3 separate regions of the Homo sapiens genome follow, and regions 1 and 3 are each linked to region 2. The links are contacts of gene promoters, found by promoter capture Hi-C in blood cells and fetal thymus (Javierre and others, 2016). All regions are on one chromosome and are shown on one strand. The core of a region is centred on a gene start or on the middle of the fragment in contact, and the rest is flanking DNA. Distances in the headings are between cores, read along the strand shown. Region 1 overlaps C2CD3 (C2 domain containing 3 centriole elongation regulator). Region 2 holds the start of DNAJB13 (DnaJ heat shock protein family (Hsp40) member B13). Region 3 overlaps C2CD3 (C2 domain containing 3 centriole elongation regulator).

What was found. The method cuts DNA at HindIII sites, captures the fragments that hold promoters and counts their contacts. A CHiCAGO score of 5 or more calls a contact.
Region 1: a contact is called between a fragment that was not itself captured here and the fragment with the promoter of DNAJB13 in region 2, in 4 of 17 cell types (non-activated CD4 T cells, naive B cells, total CD8 T cells and 1 more). The highest score is 5.9, in non-activated CD4 T cells.
Region 3: a fragment that was not itself captured here is called in contact with the fragment with the promoter of DNAJB13 in region 2 in 2 of 17 cell types (non-activated CD4 T cells and naive B cells); the score reaches 5.5 in non-activated CD4 T cells.

What each region holds. Positions count from the first base shown.
Region 1 is chr11:74,034,070-74,038,107 of GRCh38, reverse strand. It overlaps C2CD3 (C2 domain containing 3 centriole elongation regulator), which reads left to right. Exons shown (of 33, transcript NM_001286577.2): 30 at 410-630; 31 at 3,830-4,038. Among named protein-coding and RNA genes, the nearest start is that of UCP3, 27 kb to the right of the region's middle. RefSeq lists an enhancer at 258-1,457. The HindIII fragment of the contact is 356 bases long and covers 1,446-1,801 here.
Region 2 is chr11:73,948,905-73,953,087 of GRCh38, reverse strand. It overlaps DNAJB13 (DnaJ heat shock protein family (Hsp40) member B13), which reads right to left and starts at 2,062. Exons shown (of 8, transcript NM_153614.4): 1 at 1,951-2,062. The coding sequence starts at 2,018. The HindIII fragment of the contact is 10,163 bases long and covers 1-4,183 here.
Region 3 is chr11:74,072,352-74,076,164 of GRCh38, reverse strand. It overlaps C2CD3 (C2 domain containing 3 centriole elongation regulator), which reads left to right. Exons shown (of 33, transcript NM_001286577.2): 24 at 1,565-1,912. Among named protein-coding and RNA genes, the nearest start is that of UCP3, 65 kb to the right of the region's middle. RefSeq lists an enhancer at 3,525-3,594. The HindIII fragment of the contact is 550 bases long and covers 1,515-2,064 here.

The DNA.
Region 1 (4,038 bases), core at 374-2,873, 85 kb before region 2:
GAAGGCTTTTTAGAAGTTGCTTGCCTGAAGGATCAGGAATGGTTATGAGGTAGCAAAGGACAGTGTTAGCGCAGAGTAGGGCTTTATTCTGTCAAAGTAAACAGAAATAAGGACTGGAATGGTGGTCAAGAATGGTTCCTTTCTGAGGAAGTGGCATTTTTGCTGGACATCAGATGAGGAATCGCATTAGACAGACAAAAGGGGGAGAAAGTTGCCCCCAGCAGCAGGATTGTAGTCAGAGGAGTGAAGGATGAGTTGGTGGATTGGAGAGAGAGGGACTTAGTATATTAATAGACCAAGTGAGAGGTATTAAGGCTTTGGCTCAAGCGGTAGTGTCCAGGGGACATAAGAGATGTTCATAATCTCCATGAATTACCCCTTTGTCTTCTTCTCCCCCTTTTGTTTATAGGAAGAATCTGAGTGAGCTTGATCAGATTCAGAGGTACTTCCGCCAGAAGCTCACCAAGCCTTTCCTACCCCTCAGCCCTCAGACTCAAACGGCCATCTCACAGCACCAGGAGAGCTGTAGGGACCATCTTGGGCCAGGTGCCAGCAGCCTAGACCCTGGGAGCCAGTGTATCCTGGAGAAATCCAGTAACCTGGTGTTGCAAGTCAGCTCCTTAATCACAGGTATGACTCAGATCCTTTCTTGTTGAGATGTTATGGTCACTAGGTGCTAATTCAAAAAGCATTTGAATGTGTTCCTTCGGACAAGCCCCTATGACAAATAGAGACCAATTGTTTTCACCCTCTTCCTTTTTTTTTTTTTTTAACCATCTTGCGTTTGAAAAGGAGGGACATAATAGTATGGCACAGCAACATGGGGCAATGGAAAGAGCACTGGACTGACCCAGGTCCTTGATGGGCTTCTGGTACAGACTTAGAGTCTGACTCTGAACGTGTCCTTTCCCTTCTTAGACTTCAGTTTCCCCAGCCAAGAAAAGAGTGGGGTAGATTAGATGAGTGGTTCCTCAATAGCAATTCTTGAACTTGTGCCACTCTCTGAGAAAATAATGAACAATAAACATATTTAAAATTCTAATTATGAAAGCCCAGAAGTCTGCACTTTTAACAAGCACCCTAGATGATTCTGGATGTTAGCGATTCATAGTCCACCCTTTGAAAAACCCCTTTGGAGCAGTGGTTCTCACTTTAGCTGCATATTGGAATTATTGAGGGACTTTTAAAAAACCCCATGCCCAGGCTGTACTGTAGGTCAACAGAATCTCTGAGGTGGAACCCAGGCATCAGTATTGTTTCTAACTCCCCAGGTAATTCTAGTGTGTAGACAAGACTGAGACTGCTCTAGAGCAAATATTGGCAAACCTGCCTGAGCATAAGAATCACCCGGGGCACTTACTGTGAAATAGAGATTCCTGGGTCCTACTCCATCCTTCTGAATCAGGATCCAGGGTCATGACCTAGAAATCTTTATCAAGCAAGCTTCAGGGAACACTGGGAAATCAACTAGATCAGCATCTTCAGCCCTCACTTGTTTTTGCTTGAGCGAAATGTGTAGATTCTACACAGGGATGAAGAAGTTCAATTTTCTTTGTCTAACAGGAGAGAAAAACACCTTGATTAACACTAAGTACAAACCTTCTTTCTGTCTTCTTCTTCCAGATACCTAACCTGTTGGTATCCATGGCCTCAGATAAATGCTCTGTGTTTGACTTCCACTTGCTTGGATATTTTCAGTCAAGTGTTTATTGAGCACCATCTGTGCCAGGCACTATTCTGTTATTTGTCCCAGGAAGATACAGTGGTGGATATGACAGGCATTATCTCCCTTCATCAAGCTTATATTCTATAGTCAACCAAAGAAAAATCCTCTCACAAAGAAAGTATGACAGCAAAACAGATGAAGGCTTGTTTGGAGTAGAGGTGGAAACAAATAGGGGAATCTTTCTAAAGGGGCATATTAAAAGAGGAGAGAGAAGGGAATTGTGGCCAGGCACGGTGGCTCACACCTGTAATCCCAGCACTTTGGGAGGCCAGGGTGAGTGGATCACTTAAGGTTAGGAGTTCAAAACCAGCCTGGCCAACATGGCAAAACCCCATCTCTACTAAAAACACAAAATTTAGCTGGACGAGGTGGTGCGCACCTATAATCCCAGCTACTTGGGAGTCTGAGACACGAGAATCGCTTGAATGCAGGGGCAGAGGTTGCAGTGAGCCGAGATTGTTCCACTGCACCCCGGCCTGGACAACAGAGTAAGACTCTGACTCAAAACAAACAAAAAAAAAAGAATTGAAGCTGTGGGGCCTAATGTTTATCCTGGAAGAAATGGAAAGTTCTCAGCAAGCAGACAACTGAATGAGAACTGGTTTTCACAAGGAGAATGAATTTAAAAAGAGAAAGATGATTAGATCAGGGAAACCATTCAAAAAAAAAAAACAGCAAAAGCCTGCCCCTGCCTCCATTATGCTCCATTATGCCTCAGTATGCTGTTTTTACAAAGCCATCAGACAAATGGATATGAGTGAAACTTGAGAGAGTTACTGAGTGGGGTTTTTTTTAAGCCAGAGCTATATGCTAGGCTAGGCCCTAGAGATACAACATGATTCAGACATATGGTTCATGCCCTGAGAAGCTCACAGTCTGATGGGGTAAACATACAATTACACAGTGTCATATTCTTAAGTGCTTCCTTATAGAACAAAGCCATGTAGCAATCTTATTTAACTCGTGAATCTGGGAAGGCCTCCTGGAGGAGATCCAATAGAACATGGCCTTGAAGGCTGGGCAAGTTTATAAAAAGCAAGAAGACTGCTCTGAGACAGAAAGCATGTTCAGGCCAAAGGATTAGGATTAACTAAACATGCTTCCCCATGCCTATTCCTATTTACAGGTAGTAATGTTTCATTTTCGTCTATCTACCCATTCCTTTGAGGCCTGAAAATCATCAGTGTATAATATTAAACAGCCAGCACCTCCTGTAGAGTGAGCCCTCTGTTAGGTGCTGTGAGGGAGATGTGACCCCTATTCCCCAGGAATCAAATTTGCCTTCAGTTCCTAATTTTCTCCTCTCAAATAATCTTGCAAACATGTATCATTTACTGGGTCTATTTATTAATTGATTCACTCCCATTCCATCCCAAAAATAATTTGAGATGACTAGTAGCTTCTGTTTATTAAGTGGTTATATATTCACCACACAGTGTATGCCCATTTCTTTCGTGTATTCTCTACTGTAACCTTATGAAGTGGGTGGTGTTGATTACACTGTACAGATCAATAGGCTCAGAGAGGATGGTTTGCTTATGATCACAAAGTTAACAAGTGACAACAGAGATTCGAACCCAAGATTGACCGGCTCCAAAGCCTATGCTCTTTCCAACATACCTTGCTGCTTCTATTTTCTGTGTAAATCTTCCCTGCCTTATCATATGGGTGATAGATATTTCCTTGCTTTTATTTTCGAAGTAAAATAGGTAGTTTTAATAACTGTCATCAAATAGGTAAATAAGTGGATTCTCATTTTGATTTTTAATATAGGTAGTTACTGAAGTAACTGGAAGCATGAACATGCCCACCAGGACTCCCAGCTCCCAACGATTCCTGAGCATGAGCAGATAGTCTCTGAAAGCATTTCCACAGATGTATCCACAACTATAGATTAGATTCTGGTCCTCTGATATTAGAATAAAGTACTAAAAATTGTACCGCCTTGAATATAGTCTCACTGAATCTTGGGTGGACTAATTTTCTTTATGGTTTGTTCAGAGTCTGATTGCCATAGTGCTTCTGAAGCTAAAGGCTAGTGTGGGAAATTTGAGGGGTCTGTGGCCCTACCTTGTAATAAGAGTGATATGTGTTGCTGTTCAGATCTGCAGACTATCACCAGGGATTCGCAAGCAGCTTTGAGTTCTCACCGAGCCAGGAGTAGAAGCAACAAGGCCACCACCCTCCCAGATGCTCAGGACACAGAAGCACTGCAAGAACGATGCACAATGCCAGATGAGCCATTGGTAAGAGCTCCAGATAAAGGCACAGATTCCCCATCACCCCCTCCTCTCGAAGAGACTTCAAATGGA
Region 2 (4,183 bases), core at 813-3,312:
TGCCCAGCTAATTTTTAAATTTTCTGTAGAGACAGGGTCTCCCTATGATGCCCAGGCTGCCCTCTCAAACTCCTGGGCCCAAGGGATCCTCCTGCTTTGGCCTCCTAAAGTGCTCAGATTACAGGCATGAAACACCATGCCAGGCCTTAATCACTCTTTATATGACATGGTTTCACATGCAAATGATTGCTGGACACATGCATTATCTCATCTAATCCTATTTCAATCTCACAGCAACCTTTATTATGATGATGATTTTTAGACATGGGAAAACTTCGGCTCAAAGAGGTTAAGTAATTTGCCCAGGTCACGCAGCTAGCAGGTAAGTGAATCTGGATTCTGATCCAGCCCTTTCCAGTGCTTAAGCTGTGCTTATCTTTCTGCACGCCCACTGCCCTTCCTCCTGATTACCTTTCCCTGGATGGGTCCTTCTGGTCAATGAGATGCTCCGAAGAGTGGGTGACATCATACACTGTCCTGAATTGTTCTCAGATCCTTTCATGAGTTTGTGTCTTTTTTCTCCAACACCGCAGACTCTCCACTTATGCCACTGATCCCCTACAGGACCTGGCCCAGGAATAGGCCCATGACTGGCAACTCTGGGAGGCCTGATATCTGAACACTGGCTCCACCATTTACTAGTGCACTTGTGGGATAATAATGGCACTTAATTCTCAGGGCTGTTGTGAGGGTTAAACAGTGATGGAAAGTTCTCAGAACAGCACCTACACACTCAAAACATACACCTATTGTCACTGCCTAACTTAATTGATTGAGTTATCCTGGACTCCTCTTTTCTTCACCCTCCAGTGATCCACTTAATTACCAAGTCCATTCCCTCCCCTTTCTCTGGCCTCATCTTTTGCCTTGATTACCACGAACAGCCTCCTAAAGGGTCTCTCTCCTTCCAAGATAACTTCCACAGCCCCCCATACTTCCTCTTCTGTAACACTCATCACAGTTGTGGTGACTTATTCAACATCTATTCAGCAACAAAATCTAGCTGCATGAGGTAAGGGAGTGTCGATGTCGGATTCCGACATTTATCTCCAGCTGCTACCACTGCAGCAGGAGTGAAGTACCCTCTCAACCCTTGTGGTAGACGCTCAATAAATATTTGTTAAAAAAAAAAACATGTTTTTGGCCAGGTGCGGTGACTCACACCTATAATCCCAGCACTTGGGAAGGCTGAGGCGGGTGGATCACCAGAGGTCGGGAATTTGAGACCAGCCTGACCAAAAAGGAGAAACCCCATCTCTACTAAAAATACAAAATTAGCTGGGCATGGTGGTGCATGCCTGTAATCCCAGCTACTTGGGAAGCTGAGGCAGAAGAATCGCTTGAACCCAGGAGGTGGAGGTTGCGGTGAGCCGAGATCACGCCATTGCACTCCAGCCTGGGCAACAAGACCAAGACTCCGTCTCAAAACAAAAAACAAAAACATGTTTTCAGAAAAATGTACTGACTCCTGTTGTAGGCTTTCTTAGGAACGAGCCAGAACGTCCTTAAGATCCGATGGAAGTATTCAGGAATGTAGTTTAGTCAATGCTGAAAACCTCCATCATGGCCAGAATTGAATTTAAAACATCCATCTGGCCTGGCCACTCCCTTGTTCACAAGCCTCTGGTTCTCCATAATATTCAAGATAAAGTTCAAATGGCTCCTTTGTCCCCACTTCATTGCTGGGAAAAGCAAGGCACCCAGGAGAGGATATAGGGCATGGAGCATAAAGGGAGATGGGTTGGGAGCAGATTGAGGAACTAAAGAGTTCAAATTTCCAACCTGGGCCCTGACCCAGACCAAAGCCAGGATACAGGTATGCAAGAAGTGAAAGGAGGAACAAGGTTTACCTTGTCTGCGCTAAGCTGTGCAGGAAAGCTCGTTTTGGAAGAGAAGAGGGCAGGGCCTGCCCCAGCACACCCCTAAGGCCTGGCTCCCACCCCAACTTACGCCTGCTTGATCTGGGCATCCTCTGAATTGCGAGTGATCCCGAGCACAGAGTAATAATCCTGGCCCATGGCTGGCTAGCTGGCAGTCAGGCCCTGGATAGTCCTCAGACTCTAGCAAGGCTGTTAGTTGGCTTCCTTGGTTGCTCCTGACAACCGCACAGGTGCACTCTGGGAGTTGTAGTCCCACTTCCCTAAACAAATTTCAGCTCTGCCACAGAGAGGAGTCAGTGAAAGGACTGGGGGAGAGCTGGGGCTGATTCTGCGACCCTGTGAAAGGTCACTCAACTCGGAAATTGAAGACTCACAGGGCTCTGTTTTATTTTGTTTTTGTTTTTAAAGAGAGCAGTAATTAGTTTTAATAAAAAGGTTTTAGAAGAAATGCATTTGGCTAATTTTTTAAAAATACATTTATTTTAGAACAGTTTTAGAGTTTAGAAAAGTTGAGAAGACAGTACAGAGAGTTCCCATATACCTCACATCCACATTCTCCTATTTTATTATTATTATTATCATTATCATGTTTTTGAGACAGGGTCTTCACTCTGTCACCCAGGCTGGTGGGCAGTGGCAGGATCACACCTCACTGCAGTCTCAACCTCCCAGGCTCAAGGGATTCTTCCACCTCAGCCTTCCAAGTAGCTGAGACACAGGCGTGCACTACCATGCCTGGCTAATTTTTGTATGTTTTGTAGAGATGGGGTTTCACCATGTTGCCCAGACTGGTCTTGAACTCTTGGGCTCGGCTTGGCCTCCCAAAGTGCTGGGATTACAGGTGTGAGCCACTGCATTCACATTCCCCTATTATTAACATCTTACATTAGTATGGTACATTTGTCACAAATAATGACCAATATTGATACATTATTATTAACTAAAATCCACATTTTATTCAGATTTACTAGTTGTTTTAACCTAATATCTTATTTCTGTTCCGGACCCCATCCAGGATGCCACGTTACACTTAGCTGTTGCATCTCCTCTGGTGCCTCCTGACTGTGACAGTTTCTCAGACTTTCCATGTTTTTGATGACCTTGACAGTTTAAGTAATAATGGTCAGGTGTTTTGTAGAATGTCCTGCAATTGGAATTTGTTTGGTGTTTTTCTTTTTGTTTGTTTGTTTTTGTTTTTTGAGATGGAGTCTCACTCCATCGCCCAGGCTGGAGTGCAGTGGCACAATTTCAGCTCACTGCAACCTCTGCCTCCCGGGTTCCAGCGATTCTCCTGCCTCAGCCTCCCAAGTAGCTGAGATTACAGGCATGTGCCACCATGCCCGGCTAATTTTTGTTATTTTTACTAGAGACGGGGTTTCACCATGTTGGCCAGGCTGGTCTCAAACTCCTGACCTCAAGTGATCCACCCACCTCAGCCTCCCAAAGTGTTGGGATTACAGGCGTGAGCCACCGCGCCAGCCCTCCTTCCCCACTTGCTGTATTGCACTCTTTGGAAGGCAGTCACTGTGCGGCCCACCCTTACAGTGAGGGAGTTATGCTCCACCTCTCTGAGTACAGCAGAGCCCTGTTTTCCATGCACATCCCAAATCCAACTGGTCACCAAGCTCAGTCCATTCTGCTTCCTAGACAACCTCTCAAGCCCAGCTCCTCTGCTCTTCCTCCTCATAATCAGGGCCCAGCTCTGGATTCATCTTTCAGCAAGACCACAACAACTTCCTCGCGGGCCTGCCTGCCTTGTCTCTGTTCTGCAAAGCCCACACTCCTCATTACTTCGAGTGAACTCCAAACTGCTTACCATGGCACACAGGCCCTCTGTGATCTGGTGCCTCCCTTTCCACCTGAGCTCTCACCACTGCCCTACACGCACCCACTGCTTGTCAGAATGGACTGCAGTGCCTGCCACTGCCCAAACCAGCCATCCCCTCTCCTCATTCACCTCTGCTGCTACCTCTGCTCAGAACCTCCCACCCCACCCACCACAGACCCTCGCCTCAACCCAGCTAACTTCTATTTGTTTTTTCTTCTTAGGAAGAAAAAGAGCAGCATTAGAACATTCCTTGTTGAAGGAATATTGCCCCGATGTGCCCCTCCCTACCTGTTTGTAATTCTCTTGCTTTTCTTTAGAGCTTTACTCCATATGCCTGTACCCAGTGGTGTGCTGTTTTGTGGCATTTGCCAGTTCTTCCCAAGCCAGTACAAGCCAGCTCCAGTGCCACACTGCAAATATCCACAGCAACATATTTACCTTTTCATATTTTTGAACTTTATATAAATGGTATCAT
Region 3 (3,813 bases), core at 540-3,039, 120 kb before region 2:
GAGTCCCTTCAAAGGGACTACAGAAAATGTCCTTGAAGTGAACCAAGTTCACTTAAACTAAAGTTTATAAAGACAGGCTTTTAGCTTCATTCTGCTGAAGAAAGTAGGTTTAGGACACTGAATATAGATCTAAGTATAGGAACTCAAGCACAAATACTTCTTTTTATTGAGTGCTACCAAAGGTAGTATTTAGCTTTTCAGATCATCCGTTTCTCTCATACTTCTCCATATCCCTCTTGTCTGAGCTTTTTATCCTCTTGTGCAAGGGTCTTATACAAGGCATGTCATTTGATGTGTTTGTTGAATGCGTCAAGCCATCCATCCAACCTTACTTCCATGTTTTATTCATTTTCCTGAGGATAAGGATTTAACTGTGTTGCTTTTGGGTGTCTTCCCACCTGTAATGACCTGCCCTTATTTTCCTTTGATAATCATAATAATTTACACATTGCTTTGAGAAGAAAACTGGTTATCTAAAACAGGAAAGGTTTCATATTATTGCCATCTATGAATCAGTTAACTCCATTTTCCTGAATTGAAGTGAATCTAATGAAGCAAACTTTGAGATTCAGAAGGAACTATTAGTTCCTTCTGTTTTATAAATCTCATTTTAATATTCAGCAAGTTAGTAAAATTCAAGTCTCTGGGCTTAAATCTGCCACTTACTGCCAGAGTGATGTTGGCAGTTTATTTAACTCCTCTGAGATTCTGGCTTATGAAAAACACTCAACAAATATTAACTCCGTTGTATTTATTTCTGGTCTCCTGCTAACCTCCTACTTCCCCCCACCCCCCCCCAAAATATCGCCCGAACCCTAGTGAAACATAGCTAAATTGAGTGTCAAGACAGCCTCCTGATAGGGAGAAGGTCGAAAAACAGGAGCCCATGAGACACGAGGAAGAGAAAATAGACCACTCTTGATTTCATCAAATCTTAGACTTCTCTAAGTCTTGTTGCCTCTCAGCGCATGAATCCCTTCCACAACAGCTCTGCCTGGTAGTCATTTGGCTTTGGCTTTAAATCAGAGATCTTACTATTTTCATTACTTTTGTTTGTTTGTTTTATTTTGTTTTGTTTTTTGAGACAGAGTCTTGCTCTGTCACCCAGGCTGGAGTGCAGTGGCGCAGTCATGGCTCACTGCATCCTCAACCTCCTGGGCTCAGGTGATCCTCCCACCTTAGCCTCCTGAGTAGCTGGGACTGCAGACACACACCACCATGCTCAGCTAATTTTTGTGTTTTTTGTAGAGATAGGGTTTTACCATGTTGCCCAAACTCTTGAACTCCTGGACTCAAGCAATTTGCCCACTTCAGTCTCCCAACGTGCTGGGATTACAGGTGTGAGCCACCACACTCAGCCTACTTTTCATTATTGAAGATAGTTAGGGCAGGGTAAAAGTTTTCATGTTTTCTACCAGCTTCATAGTTTCTTTTGCAAATTGCTGTATTGGGGTTTGTAGACCTTTCAAAGGAGAAAGGACCACAGCACCCTCAGTGAGTATTTCCTCCAAGCTTGGTCTTGGTTCCTGCTTGACTAGCCTTATTCTTCTCCATCTTCTTTTAGGTGTGTATCCTCTGTTTGGACGAAATGCTTCCAACCTCTCAGGAGCTGCCTTGCGAGTTCATGTGGTTCTTTCCTCTCTTTCCTCACACCTTGAGCCCACTCATGAGCTGGACTCCATGGACTGCAGCAGCCACAGTGAGTCTGAGCAGCTCCCCAGAAGGAATGATGAGGTCCAGCTCTCTCCACCAGAAGTCATCTCCTGCCACCAGAAGTCTCCTGCCTCCACCCAGGTCCCCTGCAGCAGCACCACAGCTGAAGTCCGCCTGACGCAGGAGGGCCCTGCTGATTTGGATGGAACGTTTGCAGTCAGCATCCTAGTAGAAAGAGCAATGCACTTGAGCTTGAAAGGTATGCTCTCCTCACCTACCCAGGAGCATGTCTAACTCTTCAGGGTGTGCTCCTTTCTTCACAAATCTTTCAAATCATGGCAGGATCTGTTAATTATCTCAACTGATAAATATTTATTTCTCAAGCCTAAAGGTTTAAGCAACATGAAAGCTTTTCTGAACTTGTTGCATATCGTAAATTCCCCAGTCCAGCCACCTGAGTCTCAACCTAGATAGATACTTCTCTTTTCCTTATCCACTGTCAAATCATCGGATCCCTAACTTGTTCTTTATTAAATTTCTCAGATTTCTTCCTTCTGCATTCCTGCCAACTCAGGCCTTCCTAATGCACCTAGGGCCAGGTGTTTTTAACATTGGGTCCTTAAACATCCAAGGGATCCGTGAAAAGTTCAAACTCCGGGTTAGTGGCCTTGGATAGGAAAATAATTACATCTTTATTTTTAGCAACCTCTAGCTAAAATTTAACATATTTCCTCTCATTATGAATATAGGCAGTAGATCCTAGTAATAGTACCTGTGATATTGTCAACAATAGAAATCACAGGTATTTCCATATCACATCATTATTGCAGATATCTTAGAATATCACTTATAACTATGATTTCTTTGAAATTACAATAGTTAGGGGGGTTTTTTTGTTTGTTTTGATTTTTTTTTTTTTTTTTTTGAAACAAAGTCTTGCTCTGTCGCCCAGGCTGCAGTGCAGTGGCACGATTTCGGCTCACTGCAACCTCCACCTCCCAGCTTCAAGCAATTCTCCTGCCTCAGCCTCCTGAGTAGCTGGGATTACAGGCTTGTGCCACCACTCCTGGCTAATTTTTGTATTTTTAGTAGAGATGTGTTTTCACCATGTTGGACAGGCTGATCTCGAACTCCTGACCGCAAGTGATCCACCCACCTCAGCCTCTCAAAGTGCTGGGAGTACAGACGTGAGCCACTGTGCCAGACCTACAGTAGTTATTACCTATAGTTAGACCTTGTTACTAAAGCACATATATTACTATATCACAAAGTTCTTTTAGTTTTGATAACTCTATGTAAATATAATTGGATTTCTCTGTAATCCTATGTGTTTTACATTATGCATTTTAAAGAAACACTGTTAAAAGAAGAGGCCCATAGACCTTGCCAGATTGCCAGAGTCCATGGCACAAAGAATTCCTGCCCTACCTTTATTCAGCATTGTAATCTCCTAAAATTTCCCCTTTGCCGTCACCCTTCTCTTTTGCCTGGCTACTTCCAGCTCCTCTCTTCAGACCCAGCTCAGGCATCACCATTTCCTGGAGGGCTTTCCCAATATAAAGGCCCCCTTCTATTTGCTCCCCTGGCACTTTGCCCCTGTATCATATCATATGTCACACAGTACTGCAGTTGTTTCCATGGTTTTCTTTTCAACTAGATATGAACTGTTCAAAAGCAAAGACCTCATCTCATTTGTTCATTCATCATGCATTCATTTATTTTACAACAAAACTTACTGTATTTGCTACATGCTAAGCCCTGTCCTTGGTGCCAGGGATAAAACAGTAAAAAAAAAGGACAGACAAAAATTGTGCCCTGTGGAGATTACATTCTAGTAGGAATATATTTATCCCTGTGTCCCTAGCCAATAAATTGTATGTGTACATATGTGTGACTTTGAGCAAGGTATTCTTTCTCTCTGTCTTGAATTTCTCATCTGTAAATGGCTGTGATTAACAATGTTCAGATGTGTGGTGTCTATGAGAGCCAGTCAACCATGGCCTTATGAATCCAGAAAGTTTCAATATACATCATTTGATTCAGATTTGACCTCTCTGTTTGGCTCCTGTCATCTCTGTTTTGGTGTCTCTCAAACTGTGTCATGTGTCCTTACTACTTTAGAACAGAAACAAAACCTGTGCTCATAGTAACTATTATTTA